Regions from separate parts of the Homo sapiens genome. Here all the other regions are linked to region 3. Evidence: promoter capture Hi-C in 16 types of primary human blood cells and fetal thymus (Javierre and others, 2016). All regions are on one chromosome and are shown on one strand. The core of a region is centred on a gene start or on the middle of the fragment in contact, and the rest is flanking DNA. Distances in the headings are between cores, read along the strand shown.

Region 1 (3,379 bases), core at 160-2,659, 370 kb after region 3:
TTCATCCTCTCACCAGGATGTGTACCTTCTTGAAGGGCTCACTAAAAAAACCAGAGTCTTCCACCTCCAGGCTCACTGCAATTGATGCATAGATAAAACAAATGTCGGATAGCCATCCAATGGATTAGTATGCCGCCATAAAAAGGAAGCACTCACTACTGATACAAGCTTCAGTGTGGATGAAGACTGACAATATTGTTCATTGAAAGACACCAGACACAAAAGATCATATATTGCATGATTCCATTTCTATAAAATGTCCAGAATATGCAAATCCATAGAGACAGAAAATCACTTAGTGGTTGGGAGGAAATGGGGGAAGGTGAGAATGCGGAGTGACTGCTAATGGGTTTCTTTTTGGGGTAATGATAATACTCTTGAATTAGACAGTGGTAAGGATTAAACAAACTTGTGAATATATTAAAAACTTGCATTGTGTACTTTCAAAGGGTGAATTTTATGGAATGTGGATATCTCACTTTTTTTTAAAATGAAAGAATGAAAAAAGGTGGCTTCTGTCTCATCTGGACTCCTACAATTTTTTTTTTTTTGAGACGGAGTTTCGCAAATTTAATTATTGATAAATATACCTGAGAGATCACTGCTTGCCAGCCCTGTACTGGCACTGAGTTACATAAAGGAATAAGACCGTCCGGGCGTGGTGGCTTACACCTGTAATCCCAGAACTTTGGGGTGCCGATGTGGGTGGATTGCTTGAGCTTAGGAGTTTGAGACCAGTCTGGACAACATGGTGAAACTCCGTCTCTATCAAAAAATACAAAAAATTAGCTGGGTGTGGTGGTGTGGGTCTGTGGTCCCAACTACTCAGCTAACTTGGGAGACTGAGGTGGGAGGATTGCTTCAGCTTGGGAGGAGGAGGTTGCAGTGAATCGAGATTATGCCACTGCACTCCAGCCTGGGTGACAGGGTGAGATTCGTCTCAAAAAAAAAAAAAAAAAAGGAATAAAACCCAAGCCCGCACACACTTCATAGGCTAAAGGGAGACAAATAAGTAAATGTTCTATTATAACCAAGGGTGAGCTGGGTGCGATGGCCCATGTCTCTAATCCCAGCACTTTGGGAGGCTGAGGCTGGCAGATCACCTGAGATCGAGAGTTCGAGACCAGCCTGACCAACATGGAGAAACCCCATCTTGACTAAAGATGCAAAATTAGCCAGGCATGGTGGCGCATGCCTGTAATCCCAGCTACTCGGGAGGTTGAGACAGGAGAATCGCTTGAACCCGGGAGGCGGAGGCTGCAGTGAGCCAAGATCGCGCCATTGCACTCCAGCCTGGGTAACAAGAGCCAAACTCTGTCTCAAAAACAAAAACTGAGGGTGATGTTGTAATGGAGGTAATGCCAAATTAACAATTACTGGTGCTTAAGTTATATTAGATACTGTTCTAAGTGCTTTGGATGTAGTAAGTTATTTATTCCTCTTATCAATCCTATGAAGTGGAAACTCTTATTAACATTATCGCAAATTTAGAGGTAAAGGAAGCAAGGCACAGAAAAGTGATGCGACCACATATATGCCTGTAAAGCAGCAGAGCTAGGAGTTAGACCTGAGCAGGCTGGCTCCAAGTCTGTGCAATTAAGCAGGATATTCCAGTGCTTAGAGACAGGCACAGGGTGCCCTGGGGACACAAAGGAGGGCCACGTAAGCCTGCAAGGAAAGGTGTCACTTATAATTCACATGCATATTTGGCCTAGATTTTTTTTTCTTTCATTTCTCTATGCTGTCAGGGCTACCCCCACTGTGCACAGCAGAATAGGCTTGCTTACACGTGGATGTGGTCAAGAAAGGGAATGAAAAAAAAAGGGAGGGACTTCTTACTCTGCAAACCACAGTTCTTTCAGCCTGAGCATCATGGGGTTCACCGTGTGCAGATGCTCCTCGTTCCACTTCTTGGCGCTCCTGTAGACACTGTGCCAGGGCACAGGGGCCCGGATCACTCTTTGAGGAAACAAGCGGGGGATGCTCTCAATAAAGAGCCGTTTTCTCTCCATTGGGTCCATGAGGATGTAATCAACTACAACCGGAAAGGGCGAACACCTCATTATTAAGCTCTAAGGGTTGTGCTCTTAGCTTCAACTCATTTAGTTTTGTTTTTAATATAGAGACGGGGTCTCACTAAGTTGGCCAGGCTGGTCTCAAACTCCTGGGCTCAAGTGATCCTCCCACCTCAGCCTGCCAAAGTGCTGGGATTACAGGCATGAGTTGCTATGCCTGGCCTTAGAGTCAACTCTTTTTATTTATTTATTTATTTATTTTTTGAGATGGAGTCTCGCTCTGTCGCCCAGGCTCGATTGCAATGGTTCAATCTCAGCTCACTGCAACCTCCACCTCCGCCTCCTAGGTTCAAGCCATTCTCCTGCCTCAGCCTCCTGAGTAGCTGGGATTACAGGTGGCTGCCACCACACCTGCCTAATTTTTTGTATTTTCAGTAGATACAGGGTTTTGCCATGTTGGCCAGGTTGGTCTTGAAATCCTGACCTCAGGTGATCCACCCGCCTCGGCCTCCCAAAGTGCTGCGATTATAGGTGTGAGCTAGCACACCTGGCCTTAGCTTCAACTCTTAGAATATAAATGAGCCTCTGTCCATTTGCAAGGTCATGGGTAATCCCCTGGGTATAATTCAACTGGTGAAGCTTCACTCTTGGTGTTTGTTTTCTTTCTGAGGGTATTTTACAGAAAGGAGGAGTGTGACTTCACGGTGTGGAGCACTTAGAATCTGGGGTTGAGCCCTGGTAGGATGTCTAGTATCAGGCAGGACAATGAAATAGGATTTGCTGATAACTCATTAGTCACTGATTGATTTCTCACACCAAAATAGATGCACACAAAAAAACCCACCATGGATGATACCATCCATTATATTTACAAATAGAAGTTTAAAGACCAAATGTTTTCCATACTAAGAAAGGTTGGTAGAAAAGCTTCATAGAGGATGTAACATTTGTGCTGGGTCATAAAGAACAAGTAGCAGGCTGGGTGCGGTGGCTCACACCTGTAATCCCAGCACTTTGAGAGGCTGAGGTGGGTAGATCACTTGAGGTCATGAATTCGAGACCAGACTGGCCAACATGGCGAAACCTTGTCTCTACTAAAAATACAAAAATTAGCTGGGAGTGGTGGTGCGTGCCTGTAGTCCCAGCTACTCAGGAGGCTGAGGCAGGAGAATTGCGTGAACCCAGGGGTCCGCCCAGGTAGGTCTTGAAATCCTGACCAACCTCTGCAGTTGCAGTGAGCAGAGATCACACCACTGCACTTCAGCCTGGGCGACAGAGCAAGACTGTCTCAAAAAAGAAAAAAAAAAGAAGTGTAGAATCTCAGCCAGGTGTGATGGCTCATGTCTATAATCCCAGCACTTTGG
Region 2 (3,143 bases), core at 402-2,901, 300 kb after region 3:
CAACATGGTGAAACCACATCTCTACGAAAAATACAAAAATTAGCCAGGTGTGGTGGTGGTTGCCTGTAGTCCTAGCTACTTGGGAGGCTGAGGCAGGAGAATCGCTTGAACCCAGGAGGTGGAGGTTGCAGTGAGCCAAGATCGTACCACTGCATTTCAGCCCTGGGAGACAGAGTGAGACTCCATCTCAAAAAAAAAAAAAAAGAAGAAAGAGAGCTAGAGTCGCTCAACGTGAATGTGACTACAGGCTGGGTACCAAGTTATTCTGATAGATTCTTTTGTCTTAAGCCTTACGTCATACCTATTTCCCTTTAAGCTTTGGGAACACAATGAGTTATGCCACTCAGGGCATCTGTAAGGTAAATGAATTATTAATTGGAAGGGACTCTAAATAGACTTCGTGCCATTAATCCCATTTGACAAAAAGGACTGGTCCGTGGCAACCAGAGGGTTCCAGCTAACCCTCTTCTCTTGCATCACCTGCTTCTAACTGCCAGTATTTCACCAGGAATAGGTTCATTGCCCCAGGGTTCACAAGTGAAGGAAAGAGAGGTGCAGAGGGACAGGTTTTGGTAGAAAGCAGAGGGTCCAGCCAAACTACTGACACATGAACCTTCTCCCCAATGTTCTCTTTAGTGCACTAGTGTCCTGGCATGTGTACCCCGGTTCTTGTTTACCTTGACATATGCTTCAATCCCAAGTCCAATGACTTCTCGCATACTGGCCAGCATCATCTGCTCCACCTGCTGGAGCCACTTTTCCACCATGCCCTATGGAGCAAGACAGAGAGAGGGTGCAGCAGTCAACCAAAGCCCAGAGGGAGGGAGAGTGGGCAGAACACAGCTTTCTCTCTGGACACGGCTGGAGGGATGCCAAAGGCTTGGCACCTTTTCAAGTCAATATTCTCTGTCTCCCCGTTCTTTTTTTCTTTTTTTTTTTCTTTTTTTTTTTTTTTTTGATACAGAGTCTCGCTCTGTCACCAGGCTGGAGTGCACTGTCATGATCTTGGCTCACTGCAACCTCCGACTCCCTGGTTCAAGCGATTCTCCTGCCTCAGCCTCCCGAGTAGCTGGGATTACAGGCGTGCACCACCACCGCGGCTGATGAATTTTGTATTTTTAGTAGAGACGGGGTTTCACCATGTTGGCCAGGATGGTCTTGACCTCCTGACCTCGTGATCTGCCCACCTCGGCCTCCAAAGTGCTGGGATTACAGGTGTGAACCACTGCGCCTGGTCTCTTCTTTTTTTTTTTTTTTTTTTTATAGAGAGAGACAGGGCCTTGCTCTGTCATCCAGACTGGAGTGCGGTGGCACGATCCTGGCTCACTGCAGCCTTGAACTCCTGGGCCCAAGTGACTCTCCTGACTCAGCCTCCTGAGTAACTGGGACTACAGGCACATGCCACCATGCCCGGCTAACTTTTAAATTTTTCTGTAGAGCCGTGGTCTCTCTATGTTGCCCAGGCTGGTCTTGATTTCCTGGCCTCAAGAGATCCTCCTGCCTCAGCCTCCCAAAGTGCTGGGATTACAGGTGTGAGCCATGGCACCTGGCCTTGGCCCCAGCCAATATTCCAATATTCTTTATCTGCTTGACACTTATTTTCTGTATTCTCAGAAGCATATGCCTTCTAAAGGGGCGATAGGCCTTTTTTTTTTTTTTTTTTTTGAGACGGAGTTTCACTCTTGTCACCCAAGGCTGGAGTGCAATGGTGTGATCTCGGCTCATTGCAACTTCCGCCTCCTGGGTTCAAGCGATTCTCCTGCCTCAGCCTCCCAAGTCGCTGGGATTACAGCATGTGCCACTACACCTGGCTTTTTAGTAGAGACAGGGTTTCGCCATGTTGGCCAGGCTGGTCTCAAACTCCTGACCTTAGGTGATCCACCCGCCTCGGCCTCCCAAAGTGCTGGGATTACAGGTGCAAGCCACCACGCCCGGCCCATTTTTAATACGCATTACTTTCATGTCATTTTCTGAAACAGACAACTTCTCAGAAGGCAAATGAAACATTTATGTCAGTTCATAAAATAAATTGCATCTTTTAAATGAACAGCTCTGATTCATGCATTATTCCAGTGGGTCTCAAACTTTGCTGTTCCTTGAAATCACTTGGAGATCTTTTAAAAAATACTGATGACTGACTCCCACCCCTAGACTTCCTGATTTAATTGGTATGGGATGCAACCTGGTCATTTGGATTTTGATCAAAACTCCATAGGGAAATTCAAATATGCCCCAAATTATTCAGTGTTAGAATTTCAGGTAACTGTAGCTATTGACTTCAGGTGCTTGTAAGCTAGCTGGTGTCTGCATTGGTAATGTGACTCCTGGTTGCTGCAGTTTATACGCGTGGGTGGCAAAAACAGTCAACAAAGCAAGGCTCAGCTTGCTTGTCTATTTCCACTTGAGGGTGCTGTCACTGAGCAGAAATGGAAGTAATTTATACTTTACTCATTATATAAGGACATATGTATGAAAACCTGAGTTAAGTTGCATTATAGCTCTCATTGATTCTATGATGTTTTATTGATCTTTAAAATGAATGCCCCAGGAAGCTACCTGTCTAACTGAATCACTTTCAACTGAACTCTGCACATGGAAATCTAAACAGCATCGGCTGTTTGGATCTGATTCCTGCAATTGACTCCACATCGAGTTGGGTTAAAATCCACAAATTTAATATGTCATGTGGATTGCAGTGGAATCCCCATCTTAGAGATGGGTACACTGAGACTCAGAAAGATTGAGTAACTTCCCCAAATCTTCAGTCGTTACATCGTAGAACCCAAGTGTTCCATACCCCAGGCAGTCTGGTGCTTAGTCCCAGTGCTTAGCCAATACGCTCTCTGATTTACTCTGTTATGGAGAAAAGAACCAAAAATGGGTAAGAGGAGTTACCTTGGCATTAGCTGGGTAGATTTTCTGTATGAATGGAACAGTTTCTTTTTCCGAGCTGATCATGCCCACAATTTCCAGATTGTCTGTAAACTCAAGCTTGGCAATTCCTTCAAAGCACTTCTTCAAGTGCGGCTGCACTCGGAGAGGGTCCTTTGTCTCGGACAAGATTTCCAGCAGCTCATCGTTTGATAGGAAGAAGAATCTATTTCAAAGCAAAGAAAGATGGTAACTGGAACCTCTTCCAAGAA
Region 3 (3,348 bases), core at 748-3,247:
TGTATAAAACGCAAAGTCAAAAGTCAAACAGGGCACCTGGATCTCTCAAGTTGCCTGCTTGCCCCTCTTCCTTTGGTTCCTGCTCTAAAACTTTCTAATAAACTCTCACTCCTGCTCAAAAACTTGCCTCAGTCTCTCACTCTGCCTTATGCCTCTTGGATGAATTCTTTCCTTTGAAGAGGCAAGAATCAAGTTATTGTAGATCCGTATGGATTCACCACTGCTAACATTATGCTGAATGGTATGTGAGAGTAGAAAAAAAAACACTGTTTTTTCCCTGTCTCTAATAATGAGCTTAACATCAGAATAGAAATAATAGAAGAAAAAAATCAAAGAACTGGAAGCCAGAATTTACTCAACCTGAACAAAAGAAAGAAACTAGAATGGGAAAAAAAAGAAAAAAAAGAACAGAGCCTCAGGGACCTGTGAAACTATCATAAAAGATCTAACATGGGGGCTAAAAATTTACTCCAAGAAATAATAGCTGAAAAGTTCTCAAATTTGTCAAGAGACATAACTATAGAATTCAGCAATACAGAAAAAGAAATATACAACAGGACCAAGCAAGGTTTATTCCAGGGAGGCAAGGCTGGTTCAATATTAGAAGATCAGTGTAATCTATCTTATTAACAGGCTAAAGAAGAAAAACACCACATGCTTATAGTAACTGATGCAGAAAAAACACTTGCCAAAATTCAACACCTATTCATGATAAAAACACTCAGAAAAAAATAGAAATAGAGGAGAATTTCCTCAACTTGATAAAGGGCATCTACACAAAACCTACTACTAATATTGTACCTAACCATGAAAGACTGAATGTTTTCCCTCTAAGATCAAAAGCAAGGCAAGGATGTCTGCTCTCATCACTCTTATTCAACGTAGAGCTAGACACTCTAGCCTGCGCAATAAGGCAAGAAAAGGAAATAAAACGCATATAGATCTGAAAGAAAGAAGTAAGATCTGTTTACTTATTTACAGGTAATGTGATTACACAGAAAATCCCAAGGAATCAACAACAAAAGACTCCTAGAACTCAAAAGTGACCAACAAATTCCTCTTTAAGTAAAGTTGGGTCTCTCACATGTAATTGAAAGAGTCCTTTATTTATTCACATATCCATCAACTATTTATTGAATGCCTAAAATTTGCCAGTAGCTATTCCAGGCAATAGATACACCATCAAACAAAAAGAGTTCTTACCCTCAAGGGTGATAGTAAGAGATGTAAAAAGTTAAAAAATGGTAAAAGAGAAAAAATGAAGAGTGCTACTTTAGAAAATGAGGTAAGGGAAGAGTTATTTAATAAGACACCTCAGAAAATGAGGAATTTGGCCAGGGGGATATCTGAGGAAAGAGTTCCAGTCAGTGGAAACTGTGAATTCAGAAAGCCTGAGGCTGAAACAGGCAAGTGTGTTTGAGAAAAAGCAAGGAGGCCGGTGGCTGTGCAGAGTGAGGCAGAGGAAGGAGAATGGGCTGTGGATCAGAGGACCCTGTGCCAGATCATACAACTCCTTGCAGTTCATGTAAGGACTCGGATTTTACCTGGAGTGGAAAAAGAAGCACTGAAAGATTTGAGCAGGGGAGTAACCTGATAGCGTTTATGTTTAGTCCTGCCACTTCGACAGATAAACGCACCAATGGGCTTGATGAGATTTAGGCCAACCCATAACCGCCCCTCAACTTCTTTCCTTTCAATTTCAAAACTCCTCTATGGCTTCCTCCATCTGTTCTTCCTTCTGAGAAGTGCTCTCTCTGCCCCTTTACAGAACTAACCACTTCGGCAACTCCTTGGACACTTTCCTTCTTGTTAATAATTTGCTTTCTCCGCCCCTCAAAAGCTTGCTGTTTCTGTAAATCATTACCTGTAAGAGGAACCGCTGGGAGTCCTGTAAACTTTAGCCCAGAGCTTGGCTCCTCCTCCAGAATGTCTCCACCAATCAAGGAAAGTGTTTTGGGCCAGTCTTGCTCCTCCGGATTGTCAGACTGCTCCTCCCTCTTCTTTAGACTGCCACGAGGAAAAAGCAGATGTGAGAACTCAAGGTTCAGGGCTGCTCTTCTAAGAAACAAGTCTGCCATAATCTCCATCTGTGTTGGAATCTGTTAACTAGTGAGTACCTCATCTCCCCTCCTGTGTAAGATTTCCTGAACTGGCACATCTGTTTTTTGAGCAAAGATAACAAACAGATGAACAAAACCAACAATCAAAAATGCTGTCATTAAAGTCTTGGGCAGCCAAAGTTTCTCTCAGAATTTCTCAGTTGTGTGATACTATCTATTAAGTGATGAGGAGTATGCACACACAAAAGGCTATAAATGTAGCAGCTGAGTTTTCATGTTGAGCCTTTTGGTGCTATTTGATTTTTTGAAAAACTATGTACATGTATTAAGTTGATAAATTTTTTTTTTAATTTTAATTGAACCAGATGCGGTGGCTCAAGCCTGTAATCCCACCACTTTAGGAGGCTATGGTGGGCAGATGCAGATCACTTGAGGCCAGGAGTTCGAGACCAGCTTGGCCAACATGGTGAAACCCTATCTCTACTGAAAATAAAAAATTAGCCAGGTGTGGTGGCAGGTGCCTGTAACCCCAGCTACTTGGGAGCCTGAGGCAGTAGAGTCACTTGAACCTGGGAGGTGGAGTTTGCAGTAAGCTGAGATTGCATCACTGCACTCCAGCCTGGGTGACAGAACAAGACTCCATCTCAAAAAAAAGACCAGGTAGTGGCTGAGATTTTCATTGTACTGTCTGCTTAGCTCCCCACCTTGCTCAGTGACAGATGGGAATCCATCTTCTGCATCATCCAGAAAGTATGTAAATTACTTCCAGGAAACTTTGGGAAACACAGATGCAAACCTAAGAGCAGCCAGTTTTCTCCTTTAGGTGGTCAAGGGCAGCTGCAAAAGTTCTGTATAGGAGGGGCTTCAGGCAGGGTCTGGTTGGGTTTGGAGACAACAGCAGTGAATTTACCTTGCGTTGAGGCTGTATATGTTAAACTACTGTTATTACTTGGATACTTAGAGGGAGGGATGTTTAGGGAGCTGTGGGGAGGCTAAAGCCCCCTTGGCTGTAGGGACAAAGAGCTTGCATTTCAGATGAGACCTTAAATACTTTCAGAAGCCTATCTGACCAGGGGTGGTACTGTCTTTCTTAGAAGAGTTTTCCTTACCAATGTTTCTGTGGCTCAGTATAAAAATCTGGAGTCACCCTGGGAAAGTTATCTCAGCAATTTTACCTACAAATAATTTTATAAACCTGGGAAATAGAAGTTGTAAAATGCTAAGATCGATGAAAAGGGAGGAAAAGAACTTTGTTGAGGAGAAGGTAATCTTATGGTTTTGATGAAGA

The links. The method cuts DNA at HindIII sites, captures the fragments that hold promoters and counts their contacts. A CHiCAGO score of 5 or more calls a contact.
Region 1: a contact is called between a fragment that was not itself captured here and the fragment with the promoter of ACSM3 in region 3, in 1 of 17 cell types (endothelial precursors). The highest score is 6.9, in endothelial precursors.
Region 2: a fragment that was not itself captured here is called in contact with the fragment with the promoter of ACSM3 in region 3 in 1 of 17 cell types (endothelial precursors); the score reaches 5.1 in endothelial precursors.

The regions. Positions count from the first base shown.
Region 1 is chr16:21,132,420-21,135,798 of GRCh38, forward strand. DNAH3 (dynein axonemal heavy chain 3) reads right to left here. Exons shown (of 62, transcript NM_001347886.2): 8 at 1,840-2,035. Among named protein-coding and RNA genes, the nearest start is that of DNAH3, 17 kb to the right of the region's middle. The HindIII fragment of the contact is 2,486 bases long and covers 167-2,652 here.
Region 2 is chr16:21,059,587-21,062,729 of GRCh38, forward strand. DNAH3 (dynein axonemal heavy chain 3) reads right to left here. Exons shown (of 62, transcript NM_001347886.2): 25 at 2,896-3,097; 26 at 678-770. Among named protein-coding and RNA genes, the nearest start is that of DNAH3, 90 kb to the right of the region's middle. The HindIII fragment of the contact is 2,675 bases long and covers 315-2,989 here.
Region 3 is chr16:20,762,017-20,765,364 of GRCh38, forward strand. It overlaps ACSM3 (acyl-CoA synthetase medium chain family member 3), which reads left to right and starts at 1,998. Exons shown (of 14, transcript NM_005622.4): 1 at 1,998-2,109. RefSeq lists an enhancer at 2,135-2,264. The HindIII fragment of the contact is 1,761 bases long and covers 1,839-3,348 here.